3 separate regions of the Homo sapiens genome follow, and all the other regions are linked to region 2. The links are contacts of gene promoters, found by promoter capture Hi-C in blood cells and fetal thymus (Javierre and others, 2016). All regions are on one chromosome and are shown on one strand. Each heading gives the region's core, a stretch centred on a gene start or on the middle of the fragment in contact. The rest is flanking DNA. Distances are from core to core; before and after follow the strand shown.

What was found. Contacts are between HindIII fragments. The CHiCAGO score rates a contact against its expected background, and 5 or more counts as called.
Region 1: a contact is called between a fragment that was not itself captured here and the fragment with the promoter of LINC02453 in region 2, in 1 of 17 cell types (monocytes). The highest score is 5.1, in monocytes.
Region 3: a fragment that was not itself captured here is called in contact with the fragment with the promoter of LINC02453 in region 2 in 3 of 17 cell types (monocytes, M0 macrophages and activated CD4 T cells); the score reaches 14.3 in monocytes.

What each region holds. Positions count from the first base shown.
Region 1 is chr12:98,384,148-98,388,744 of GRCh38, reverse strand. No RefSeq gene overlaps it. Among named protein-coding and RNA genes, the nearest start is that of TRD-GTC1-1, 120 kb to the left of the region's middle. RefSeq lists an enhancer at 2,564-3,065. The HindIII fragment of the contact is 2,178 bases long and covers 898-3,075 here.
Region 2 is chr12:98,502,389-98,506,807 of GRCh38, reverse strand. It overlaps LINC02453 (long intergenic non-protein coding RNA 2453), which reads left to right and starts at 2,953. Exons shown (of 4, transcript NR_038383.1): 1 at 2,953-3,048; 2 at 4,196-4,225. It overlaps TRD-GTC1-1 (tRNA-Asp (anticodon GTC) 1-1), which reads right to left and starts at 3,305; the gene lies at 3,234-3,305. It overlaps TRW-CCA4-1 (tRNA-Trp (anticodon CCA) 4-1), which reads right to left and starts at 2,556; the gene lies at 2,485-2,556. RefSeq lists enhancers at 2,596-2,895, 2,906-3,215. The HindIII fragment of the contact is 12,452 bases long and covers 1,483-4,419 here.
Region 3 is chr12:98,405,630-98,410,098 of GRCh38, reverse strand. No RefSeq gene overlaps it. Among named protein-coding and RNA genes, the nearest start is that of TRD-GTC1-1, 96 kb to the left of the region's middle. The HindIII fragment of the contact is 7,332 bases long and covers 1-4,469 here.

The sequences.
Region 1 (4,597 bases), core at 737-3,236, 120 kb after region 2:
TCAGGAAGAAATAATGGCAGGGTGGCCTTTTGCTACAAATTCTTCCTTCCTAATGGTGATGCACAAAGCGAGGAAACGGGTGTTTGGAAAAGGTTTTGTTTCACCTCCCAGCAGATGTATGGAGCTGCCCTTCTCAAATGAAAAAACAAGCAATTCCCCACAAATACCACCACCTGTTGTTATAAATAAATCCAAGCTGTAAAATGGAACGAAAGCTTAATGGCAAAATCATTATGCACCTCCCACCCCCTCCCGTCAACCCTTCATAATAGCCTCTTAACAACTTGTTCCTCAGTCGTGTACCTTTTTAAGTTTTCGACCGCCATCAGGTCCCAGCCCTAACCAAGAGAAATGGCCTGTGGATTTGTGGCTAAAAATAAAAAGTTACCAACCTCGGGGAAAATGATCACACGTCCATTTGCACGGTTTAAGTGGCTAGAAACTGGCTACGTGCCACTCTACACTTAGGGTTCCCTTTAATTCTTAATCCAGACATCCAGTGGCTTATTTTACAGCTAATGAACCTAACCTTCAGGTGGGAGCATAAAATCCTAATTAAATCCGGGCATCATGAGGTTATTGGCAGGCTGTCTATAATTCGGCAGAATCTTGATTCTGTGAGTAGCGATAGGAAAATTATAAAACATTTGAATTGGAATGTTTTATCCTTTAATTATCCTCTTACCCATCTCCAAACTCTATTTCCCGACGGACTTTATCACTCTATCTATAAATATTGATTGTTTAGCAGGCCCGGGATATTACACTTATTAAAAATATTGCATTCCTCACCTGAAACTCAGCTTCTTTCCTTAAATCTCCTGTGAGAAGACTTAGATGAATTATTTCTTCTGATGAAAGAGGTCTTAACATTATAAATTGGGGGAGAAAAAAGCTTTAAAAATAAAGAGCTTCAGAGATTTTTTCTGAGTACAGGACACTCAAATAAGGAAGGGAGGGTAAAATATTAGAGATGGATGCTAACTTATTTTTTTCCTGCAAAGAAAAGGTGGGGGGTGGGTAATGTTCCTGCAAAGATTGCAAAACTCCATTTCATAAAAGATTTATTAGCAATGACAGAGGGAGATTGCTGAGTGGAACTCTGATAAATGCCTCGGCTTTTTTTCCCTGCTTTAAAATTATGGGTTCTGTCCATAAAGTACTGATTAATTCATATTCACTCAATGACATACCCTTTTTTTTTCCTCCCCCAAGCAAAGATTGTAAGCATTTTACTTCAACAAACAGTACTCTGGGTGGGATGCATACTAATTCATTTAGCACTGGAACTCGCACCACAACTTATGCAGCTAATCACAGCAAAGCAGGAAAGAATCTTTTCTTTTACTGTGACAAGACCTGCCTACCTTTCAGCGTTTTTCCCCCTAAGGTATTATTAATCTCAAAACTTTACAAAATTGAAGACTTATCTAAGATCCTTCAAAACAGAATAGCGTCATATGTAGCAACTCCCCAAGAGAGAAAATTCTTTGCTTTTCTAAAAGACTGACTGCAGCAATTGGGAGTCCTTTCTTGTTTTAAAAAAATCCAGATAAGTAACTGGAATGTGTTCTAAATTTTCAGATTTAAAAATACAGTATTTATTTTGGAATACTGGAAGGTTCCGGAAGAGAAAAAATGGCAAAGGACCTGGAGGGAGGAGAGTAGATGTTCGGCCACAGATCAGGAGCCAGTGGTGGCCATTCCCTGAGGTTTACCTGGGAGAAACACGAGGGTAGTAAAACAAGATGGCCAGACCTCCCTGCTTCCGAAGGTTACCTTCGTGCAGAGAGTCAGCAAGCATTTTTCCTTTTTTTCTTTTTTTTTTTTTTCTTGAGACAGAGTCTCGGTTTGTCTCCCAGGCTGGAGTGCAGTGGCGTGACCTCGGCTCACTGCAATCTCTGCCTCCTGGGTTCAAATGATTCTCCTGCCTCAGCCTCCTGAGTAGCTGGGATTACAGGTGCCTGCCACCACGCCCGGCTAATTTTTGTATTTTTAGTAGAGACAGGGTTTCACCATGTTGTCCAGGCTGGTCTTGAACTCCTGACCTCAGGTGATCTGCCCGCCTGGGCCTCCCAAAGTGCTGGTATTACAGGCGTGAGTCACTGAGCCTGGCCACATTTTTCAATTTTAATAAAGTTTTAAAATAAGAACAAAAATACATTTAAAATATTGGAAAATATAGTGAATTACTAGCAAAAGAATGATTTTACCAGCTAGTACTGTGCTAGACATAAATCTGGATTAGTAAGAAATTTTCCACAAAAAAGGATCTCTTTAATTCTGGTTTGGGAAACAGGGGACTGTAACCTCCATGAGGGCAGGTACCATGTCTATCTGATACTCACATGGCCCCGTGCTTGGCATACGGTAGATGCTCATATATATTTGTTGAGGGAATGAAGTTCTAAATAAATATTAAACAACAGTGTATGTCCAAATTTGATTTTGGATAACTTTGATTTGAAAGACCTAAAAGTATTGAAGCAGCGTTGTTCATCTGGGGTAACACCTGAGGCTTGTTGTCTTATGGCAAGGAAATCAAAGACACGGACACATCTGGAGTGAGGTTAAGAGCAGAGGTTTAATAGGCGAAAGAAAGAGAAAAGAGAATAGCTCTCTGCAGAGAGAGAGAGGGGTGCCTGAGTGGGTCTGCTGGTTTTGTGGTGAAGTTGTGTCCAGGGGAAGAACATGTAGGATTCCTGAACCTTTTAACTAGGGATCCAAGATCTGAAAACTGTTGTGATGAGACTCCCACAGGTTTGAAGAGGCTGAGTTCCAATCAAACACAGGGTTTTATAGATGAGCTTGAGGAGGTGGTGTCTGATTAACACAGGGCCCAAAGATGGTTGGACCAGGTGTGCCATTTACATAGCCTGTGAAGAAGCTGGCCACCCCACCCTAGTCTTTTATTGTGCAGATGAGTTCTCTAGCTGGCGGCTCCATGTTGTCTGTTCCTTACTGAACATGTGGTTGACAAAGAAAAGGGAAGAGGGAGCTGCCATGTTGAACATGCCTGGCCCCCAGGTAGCCTTTTTCTATTGGCATAGCTGCTGGTATTTACCTATGTAAGCTTTTAGCTTGCTTATCTATGCTTGCAGCTTGATTTTTCAGGCTGCTTTTTGTTAGGAAAGAAATGATTTTGGGGCTGCTTTTGTTTTTTTTAAAAGGAAACCTTATTGAGAACTCTCTTACCCTCCCTATCTGCCTAAATAATTTCTTTTTAGCTCCTGTATCAGTATTGTCATGATCTAGGCTTTTGAGCGATTTCTAAGTTGTTTCATTAAGGTCTAGTTTAAATAGGTGGAGAATGGCTAGACACCAAGTTGCAGGGGAGGGGGGACATGCTACGATGGAAGATGCCTTCCACCAAGAATAACATCGACTTATTGAAAGTTTCTCTGTGACAACTACGGAACTAAATCTAATTTACCTCTTTCAGTCTTTACAACAACTCTGAGAGGTATGAGTTTTTATCGCTATTTTATAGTTTGGCTCAGAAAGCATCATAAGTGATTGATTGAGATCATACAGCTAGTAGGTGGCAGACCTGGGACTCAAATGCTCCTTGTATGACTGCAGCCTTTGGGCTCATAAATGCCATGCTTTACTGTCTGGAGGCTAGGTCAGCCAGAGATGGGAGCCAAATGTAGCACATCCAGGGTTGGCACATAGGGATGTGAGTTTAGAAGATCCCTCTCAAGGAGTTGCGTCCAGGGGAAGAACATGTAGGATTCCTGAACCTTTTAACCAGGGTCTACTAGGGATGCAAGATCTGAAAACTGTTGGGATGAGACTCCCACAGCTTTGAAGAGGCTGAGTTCCAATCAAACTGGCACTAGCACTGGGAAAGCCAGGAAAAAGTAGTCAGGGAGCTGGTGACAGGTGTTGAGAGACAGGAAAGGTAGCCATGGTGGCTGGGGCATAGAATTCTGCTTTCAGCGACTGGGAAGATTGAGGCTTTACAGTGGAAAAACTCAACATGTAAGCCATGGGGTTCAGCCCCTGGTGGACACAGAATTAATCAAGATGGACTCCATAAGTCTCCTTGTTGACAGAGAGGTCAATCTATTTGTCTTAATTGGGGACAAAACTAGTACCAGGGCCTGGAATTGAACCTAAAGGGAATCAAGTTGACTCAGTTGCCAGGGTTGGAAGGTATGATTCAGTGAGGGGTAGCCTATCTCATGTTTGTCTGACCTGAGGAAATAGTCACATTAAATATAGGAGAATCAGATTCGTTTTTGCTAAAGTTGATTGAAATGTTGCTTATTTTAATCTTTCTTCTTTAATAGTAATGATAGCTTATGTTTATTGTGCATCTAATATGGGTTGGCAGCAGTGGGTGGCACTTTGCTTGCATCTCATTTAATCCTCACAACAATTCAGGGTGATAGGCATTATTATCATCATCTCCATCTTATGAATAAGTGAAATGAAGGCTTGGAAGGGTTAAGTCATTTGTGTAAGGTCATGAATCTAAGAAGTATGGAGGTCCTGAGTTAATTTTTGTGTAAGGTGTAAGGACGGAGTGAGTATAGCAGGAGGTCTCTGGGGCCAGCATCTCCTCTCTTGAGCTAGGTGTACATATTTTGTT
Region 2 (4,419 bases), core at 1,704-4,203:
TTCCCCTGTGTGCACACATCCTTGGTGTCTGTGTGTCCAAATTTCCTCTTATAAATATGACACCAGTCAGACTGGATTAGGGCCCACCCTAATGGCCTCATTTTTACTTAATAATGTCTTTTTTTTTTTTTTTTTAAAAGAGAGTCTTGCTCTGTCACCTAGGCTAGAGTGCAGTGGTGCGATCTCGGCTCACTGCAACCTCTGCCTCCCGGGTTCAAGCAATTCTCCTGCCTCAGCCTCCCGAGTAGCTGGAATTATAGGCACCCGCCACCGCGCCCAGCTAATTTTTCTATTTCCAGTAGAGACAGGGTTTCACCATGTTGGCAAGGCTGGTCTCCAACTCCTGATCTTGTGATCCACCTGCCTTGGCCTCCCAAAGTGCTGGGATTACAGGCGTGAGCCACTGCACCTAGCGTACTTAATCAGGTCTTACGATCATTCTGAGGTACTAGGAGTGAGGGCTTCAACATATGAATGTTGGGGAGATGAAATTCAGCCCATAAACTGGGTGTGGTGGCTCACGCCTGTAATCCCAGCACTTTGGGAGGCTGACGCAGGTGGATCATGAGGTCAGGAGTTCAAGACCAGCCTGGCCAACATGGTGAAACCTTGTCTCTACTAAAGATAACAAACAAACAAACAAAAAAATAGCTGGGTGTAGTGGGGTGCACTTGTAATCCCAGCTACTTGGGAGGCTGAATCGTTTGAACCTGGGAGGCGGAGGTTGCCACTGCATTCCAGCTTGGGCGACAGGGTGAGACTCCATCTCAAAAAAAAAAAAAAAAAAAAAATTCAGCCCATAACAGAAGCCATTTCTTCCCTCTGGCATCATTTGCATATACTGCATATATCGTAGCTTGGACCAATCATGTTAACTCATTTGGACAAAACCATATTTTTGTGATGTAGATGGAGAGGTTGTATCACCTTGTTATAGCCTCATACAACCCAATGTGGAGTTACTGTCCACTGTTTTAGCACCCCCATACCACTCTGTTCATGTTACTTTCATGGTTCTTACCAAGTAACATGAACTTACCCCAACACATTATGGCGTTTGGTGGCTTAACATATCTGTCTCCTGATGCTCAAAAAAACCCATTTTTACTCAGTGTATCCTCATCCTTAGTACTTAGCACAGTATCAGGCTCATCAGAGTTGACAGTCCATAAATACCCGTTGAAATGGATGATCTAATTTTAATCCAAACAGGAGAGGGAAGAACAAACCACACCATGTGCAAATATAATTTCCAGGTATACTGCTACATTAGGTTGAATCAAAAGAAATTAGTGTTTGGTATTTTCAAAATACTAAGCAGAAAACCTCAGGAATTTTACAAAACATATCATCAAAATCTAAAACTATTAATTTCTCATAGTCTTGCTATTCATTTTCTGTTCAACAAATATTTGACACTTACGTGTAGGGCACTATTTAGTACTAAGAGTCCTGGAGCTTGCAAATGTGAACGAGCAAGCTTTGCTTCCTGCTATTAAAGAGATTAATAGTCAAAAGTGGTGACTAGTCATCACTCGCATAATCGGTGAAAACATAAAAGGCGCCCAGTCCAACAGCTTTTCCCACATTCCTCCCCGCCACCCACCTCCAGAAGGAGTCTTGCTTGGTCACCCAGGCTCACTGCAACCTCCGCCTCCCGGGTTCAATCAATTCTTCTGCCTCAGCCTCCGGAGTAGCTGGGATTACAGGTGCACCCCACCATGCCCAGCTAATTTTTGTATTTTCAGTAGAAATGGGGTTTCACCATGTTGGTCAGGCTGGTCTTGAACTCCTGACCTCGTGATCCACCCACTTTGGCCTTCCAAAGTGCTAGGATTACAGGTGTAAGCCACTGAGCCTGGCAGTCACACATTCTTTCAACTGTTTGTTTCCACCTTTATTATAAAGTATTTATAAAGAGGGATCCAGAGTCCCTCACCTGGTTCAGAATCTTGGGTGACCCTTGGCAGGTCACTAACCCTGTGAGCCACAGCCACATTTGTAAAAGTGGGATAATAGTCACACATTGTGAGGTTGTTCACAGTGTTGGCACATGGTAAGGGCTAAGACACTTGATTAGCATAATATTCAAAATTAGAAATTGTACACTATTGTACTCTCTTTCAAAAGGCAAACAGCCTAAAACTGTTTGGAAAAAACAGCTTGTACAGTATATTGTACACTTCCTGTGATAGACTAGTGGACTGATACACCCACTAATGCACAGCAGTAATAGTCCACCTCTTTACACATTATGCATGTTAAGTGACAAAAAAACTCACTTTAAAAGGCCAAATGATAAAAACATCAGCCTTGAGGCTCTTCGATATAGAGTAAATCATATCTTCCTGCAAACCAAGGATTAGTATCATAATACCTGAAAGAGGAAAACTTAATTCTAACATTCAAGAAAATTGGCGGCAGGAATACACCTCGGCTTCTAGTAGTCGGTAGTTTAAAATACAGGAGGAAAAAAAAAAAGTTTGACCCCGACGTGATTCGAACACGCAGCCTTCTGATCTGGAGTCAGACGCGCTACCGTTGCGCCACGAGGTCCTGCTGGGCTGTGGCTCGCGCAGTTTCTTAGGACACCAGTAAATGGCGTTTCTTCCAGGGGTACCAGTCTTTCTCTTCCATTTACTCTCTGCCCCTCCACCCAGTATCTGTCGGACCAGGAGACCGATTCCTTCAGCGTCCAAACTTTCCTGACTGCTAGTCCTCTAACCAAGGCTGGGACGTAACCAGCGGAAGCGGGAGAACGGGGCTTCCCGTTTAGTCGGGTCTCCAGGATCAAAGGAAATTGGCCCTTCCTTTTCTTTACCAAATGATTTCCGTTCTTACCCGCCCTGCCCCCGCCCCGTTAGTCGCGAGACTCCGCCCTCTCTCCCCTCCCCCAACAGGTTCCGCGCGCTGAGTTCGCGACCTCGAGTTGTAATCTGGCGGGGCGCCACTAAGCCGGCGCAGGCCTTCGCAAGATGGCGGCTGGAGGCAAGGGCAGAGGCCTTCAGAGCGTTTTCTTTTTCCCTTTCCTCCCTTCCTGCAAACAATGTAAGGCATTTTCTCTCAGGGGAGGCTTTCACTTCATGGTGGGCATTAAGGTTAAAAGTCACCATTTTGAAGACAGGGTTGTGCACTTAAGGGAGCTGGTTTAGCATATTATGTTTAACAGCAGTGTCCTGTCATTGAATGATACAGAAAATAATAACTGTCGCCAAAAAAGTGCAGCTACACACCTCCCCGTCGGGGAATTGAACCCCGGTCTCCCGCGTGACAGGCGGGGATACTAACCACTATACTAACGAGGAGTCGTTAGGCTGTGTATTTTCTCAGACAGCCCTTCAAGGAGCAGTAAGATCCTTCCAGCGCTCCGTAACCTTCCGCCTGCCCCCGGGAAGTACGAAAGTCCGGTCTCTTGGAGCCGCTGCTTAGGCTTATTGTCCTCTCTGGGCGCTTTGTATTCTTGATGTTGGTGGGAAGAATAAAAGGTGTGGAATATGTGAAGGAAACGCGCTTCCCATGTTAGTGCTAGAGAAGTGTGTGAAAATAGTTTTTCCGAGGCTCTTGACGCGTTCTAAATGATTTAGGTTGCCGTCCTGAGTTTTTTTTTTTTAACTGACCACTGGTATGTGACTTGCGGCTGAGCCTTCCCCTTACAAATTTATACTTTCACTCTGAAGTTCAAGTTCAAGGATAGCATATGGCTGCCAGATGTCGGGGACAGTTAGGGTTGCCACGGTCTCGTGCCTCTTCAAACAATTCATAAGTCTTTTTTTTTTGAGAGGAAGTCTCGCTCTGTCCCCTAGGCTGGAGTGCAGTGTTGCGATCTGGGCTCACTACAACCTCCACCTCCAAGGCTCAAGTGATTCTCCCGCCTCAGCCTCTCGAGTGGCTGGGATTACAGGCGCGCACCACCATGCCTGGCTAATTTTTGTATTTTACTAGAGACGCGGGGTGTGTGTGTGTGTGTGGGGGGGGGGAGGGTTCACCATGTTGGCCAGACTGGTCTCGAACTCGTGACCTTTAGTGATCCACCTGCCTCGGCCTCCCAAAGTGCTGGGATTTACAGGCGTGAGCCACCGCGCCCGGCCAATTCACACACTTTTGTAACACAAAAGCGCCCAATGAAATGACCAGCTGCGGGCAAATGAAATTTTATCAAAATTTTATCAGCCGACTTCTGTTTCGCTCTCTGTAGGTGGCTACAGTTTAACTGGAAGTGACAAACGTAAGTATGTGAATGGCTAAATAATAATGCGTTTAAATAATTCAAAACCAGGATGTGCCACTGATTAAACATATGGGTTAGGAAAGTGCACTAATCGGATAATTTGATAATTTGTGTCATCCTAAACCCGTTCATAGACAGGATGAACCCTCTTCCCAGGGATACTAAGAGAGCCTTATATGTAAACTTTTTTT
Region 3 (4,469 bases), core at 1,447-3,946, 96 kb after region 2:
TAAGGAGGGATTCGTGATGCAGAGTACTATTTTTTTCTCCCTTTGCATGTCCAAAGCAGAAGCAGTGTTGTATATGTGCTGAGGCATATCAAAGCCTGGCTGAATCTTCCTTAGCAGGTCTGGTAGTTTGATGTTAGTTCAAAGGAAACCTCCAGTCCCAAAGACTTTTAAATTTCTTTCTGCAAAATAAATTAAATGCTGAAAAGCCAAAAGCCAATATAAACCTCTCTGTGCCTCTGTATGTGAATGACATAAGCAAGTTGTTTCTCTTCAAAGTATTCTTTGGAAATGCATGTTTTTCTTGTGCATAGCATATATTTACATGATGTTCAACGTATGATGCAATCTTGGAAAGACAGACCAAGAAGATGGGGGCTGCTGCTGAAGATGGCTCAGCTCAGAGTTTTGTGCTTGGCTCAAAGTGGGGCACTGTGGGAGGCTGAATGATTGCATGCTATGCCATACTTTATTCTTCACATTGAAGTCTTCTTGTTTTTTAAATTACATTTTAATTTTTTTTCTTGTAGTTAGAGATAGGGTCTACCTATGTTTCCCAGGCTGGTCTCGAATTCCTGGGCTCAAGTGATCCTCCTGTGTCAGCCTCCTAAAGTGCTGGGATTATAGGCATGAGCCACTGTGCCCAGCCACATTGAAATTTTCTTTTCTTTTCTTGACAGAGTCTCGTTCTGTCACCCAGGCTGGAGTGCAGTGGTACAATCTATACTACAACTTCTGCCTCCTGGTCTCAAGCGATTCTCCTCCTTCACCCTCCTGAGTAGCTGGCATTACAGGCACATGTCACCACACCCAGCTTATTTTTGTATTATTGGTAGAGACAGGGTTTGGTCAGGCTGGTTTTGAACTCCTGACCTCAAGTGATCTGCCTGCCTCAGCCTCCCAAAGTGCTGGGATTACAAGCATGAGACACCATGCCTGGCCACACATTGAAGTTTTCTAAGGCACACCTATAAGCATGTCATCCTCTCCCCCAGGTGAATAAAGAAAGACATCCTACATTTGACCTATAGGTTCTGCAGGGTCTTACCCTTTCCTCATTTTCCAGCCCCACTTAATTCCATCCTCGTTCTTTTGTTTCTTCACCTTCCTCCTACTACAGGGCCTCTGCATGACCATTTCCTTTCTCATGGAAAAAATACCATCCTTGTTCTTCTGTTTCTTCACCTTCCTCTTACCACAGGGCCTCTGCATGACCATTTCCTTTCTCACGGAATTGACCTTCTGACCTCTTTGCGTTGCATAACTCCTATTATCATTTAGATGTCAGCTATCATCACTGCTTTATACAAATCTTTTCTGATGTCCTTGTACAGTTCAAACCTATTACACGCTCCCAGACCAGGATGCACCTCCTTTTATGGTGTCATCATCATTGCTGTAGTTACACATTTATTTGTGTGATCAGCTAATTCATATCCATCTCCCCCACTAGACTGTAGTCTTTATGGGCCATGAGACTGTCTCTTTTCACTCACTGTTACATCTCCTGTGTCAAACACTGATTCATTATGGGTGCTTAATAGATATTTCTTGCATGAGTGAGCAAATGAATACCAAAGCCAGTAGATTTCAGAAAAAGTTGGGTAGAAGCGGTGTGGCATGGTGGAAAGAGGACTGGCCTAATGTCAAGAGCCCAGAGCACTACACTTACTAAGTCAATAAACCAAGTATTAATCTGACCTCCTATGAGCTACACACAGTGGATACCCAGGTTGGTGAGAAGACTAAGATGCCATCTTTGCCCTTGAGGACTTCATTGTCTGCTTAGGGAAACAGAAACACAAATTGGTCCTTAAAATACATTGTGGTAGGTACCATGATGAACATATCAAAGTCACGGTGTGTGTGTGTAGGTGTGTATGCATAAACAATAGCATTGACTTTAGCTTGGGTGGTTAGGTCAGGCATCACAGAGGAGATCCCTTTCACTTGGGTCTTTAAGGGCAACAGGAGTTTGCTTTTTGACTCTGGGAAAATAATTCATCCTCACTCATTCCACAAATAATTTTGAGAACCAATCAATAGGGATTATTATTTAATTTTCTGAAGACTCAGGTTTTTCATCTGTAAAAGTGGCAATGATGCATTTTTTTTTGAGAGAGCATCTCCCTCTGTTGTTTACACTAGAGTGCAGTGGCGTGATCACGGCTTATTGCAGCCTTGACTTCCCAGGCTCAAGCAGATCCTCCTACCTCAGTCTCCTGAGTCACTGGGACTACAGGCATGAGCTACCATGCCCAGCAAATTTTTATTTTTTTTGTAGAGATAAGGTATCTGTATGTTGCCCAGGCTGGTCTTGAACTCCTGGGCTCAAGCAATCCTCCCATATTGGCCTCCCAAAGTGCTTGGATTACAGGTGTGAGCCACTGCGCCACCAGGCAATGATGGAGTTTTCCCTGCCTACTTCACAGGGCTTGTGGTGGTTTGGTATCGGAACTCATCATCATCCTTTCCAACCTCCATAGGGCACCTTCCAGAACAACAGAAACTGGAAAGGTAGGCATTGCATTTCCAAGACTCTCTTGCAGCTAGGGTTACAACCATGATTTAGATTTCTCCTAGTTCCAATAACTCATCATATGAAAGATGGACTTTAGGTGGAAGCCATCTTCTTGTTGCTTTGCTGGTTTGACTGTTTGGGCTGGTGAGCCTGGTCACAGAGGCATTTTCCCCCTGCAGCAATGTTCCAGTGCTTACTACCTAGTTCTGAGGGTGCTGAGAGGGATCTGCAGCACCAATGACTTCCTGATCCTTGTTTTGCAAGCTCAGTGGTATGTCCTTGAATTCAATAGTTCCAGGAGTGGCCTCTCCGTGGACCCTTGTAACTGATTCTGGCAAAGTGGGGGCCAGTTCAACAGTGTTGTTTAGGTGGTCATTCCTGGAGGCCCAGTTTAGAACCCATTCTTCTAGCCCTCCAACAATTTTGTAAGAGATGAATTTTTTTGGGCCGGGTGCGGTGGCTCACGCCTTTAATCCCAGCACTTTGGGAGGCTGGGGCAGGCAGATCATGAGGTCAGGAGATTGAGACCATCCTGGCTAACACGGTGAAACCCTGTCTCTACTAAAAATACAAAAAATTAGCCAGGCGTGGTGGCAGGTGCCTGTGGTCCCAGCTGCTCAGGAGGCTGAGGCAGGAGAATGGCGTGAACCCGGGAGGCGGAGCTTGCAGTGAGCCGAGATCGCACCACTGCACTCCAGCCTGGGTGATAGAGCGAGACTCCATCTCAAAAAAAAAAATAAAAATAAAAATAAATAAATAAAAAAAGATGAATTTTTTGGATTAAAATTTTTCTGATTAAAATAACTGGAGTGCTGTCTTCAGTCTCCTTTTACTGAAGTCTAACTCATAAAAGGCTAGTGTGCTGTACCAGTGAGGCAATAAGTGTAGAAGCACTGTTCATTCATAATTTATTCAATAGATACTTTTTGAGTATCTACTATGACCAGATACCGAGCTCAGCGCTTGGAAATACAACAGTGAATAAGAGAATACAGTCCTTGAATCATGGAGCTTATGCCCTAGGGGAGGAAGCAAACAGGAAATAAGTGAAAAACACTTAAGATAATTACAGATGGTGACAAATGTTATGAAGAACATATAAAAGGGATTGAGCTAGAGGATACAAGGCAGTGGGAGGAGGAGAACTTAGAGAAATCGGAATAGATGTCTCTGAAGAAGTGACAACTAAAGAAGCAGTTATATGAATGTGTGTGCGCGTATGTCCATGCACGTGCACGTGTGCACAAATTCATGTGCATAGCCAGGGTAGCAAGAATACTCCAAGCAGAGGGAACAGCATACGCAAAGGCTCAAGGTTATTGTATAAACAGCGATATTGCTGGCTTGAAGGTGAAAACTTCCTAAACTGGGTGGGTAAGCTCAAGGCGACATTGTAAAGCCTGTGGTTTATTGTTAGTATTTCCTGTTGGCCCTTTCAGCTCATTCTCTTACCTAAACAGCTCCTTCCACAACACTTCTGGAAACTTCTGCTGCCCATTCAATAAACTCATTCACTCAACACATATTTATGGAGCACTTGCCATGTCTCAGAGTGGTGCTGTGCACTGAGAATAGATATATACATAACAAAGACATAGTCTCTGCCCTTGAAGAACTTACAGGCTCCATCTGGGCCTGCCAATCTGCAGGTTTTAGACACTTTACTTCCTTTCTGTCCTTATTAAAGTGACTAGTCCTGTGTCCCAACCTCAGAACTCAGCTGACCTGCTAGCCAGGTTTCTAAAAATACACTGGCAATTTAATTCCACTCCATACTCCTCTTAGCATATGGTGGTTGTCAAATGAACATGGCATGCAGAAGGGAATGCAATTGCAAGCCCAGGAAAAGACTTGGCAGGGGGACCTTATTTTGGTGAATTTACCGGAGTCCAAGATTTAGTCCGCAGCCTTGTAGTCTCAGAGACCTGACTGGCCAAGGGTACCTGAGAGC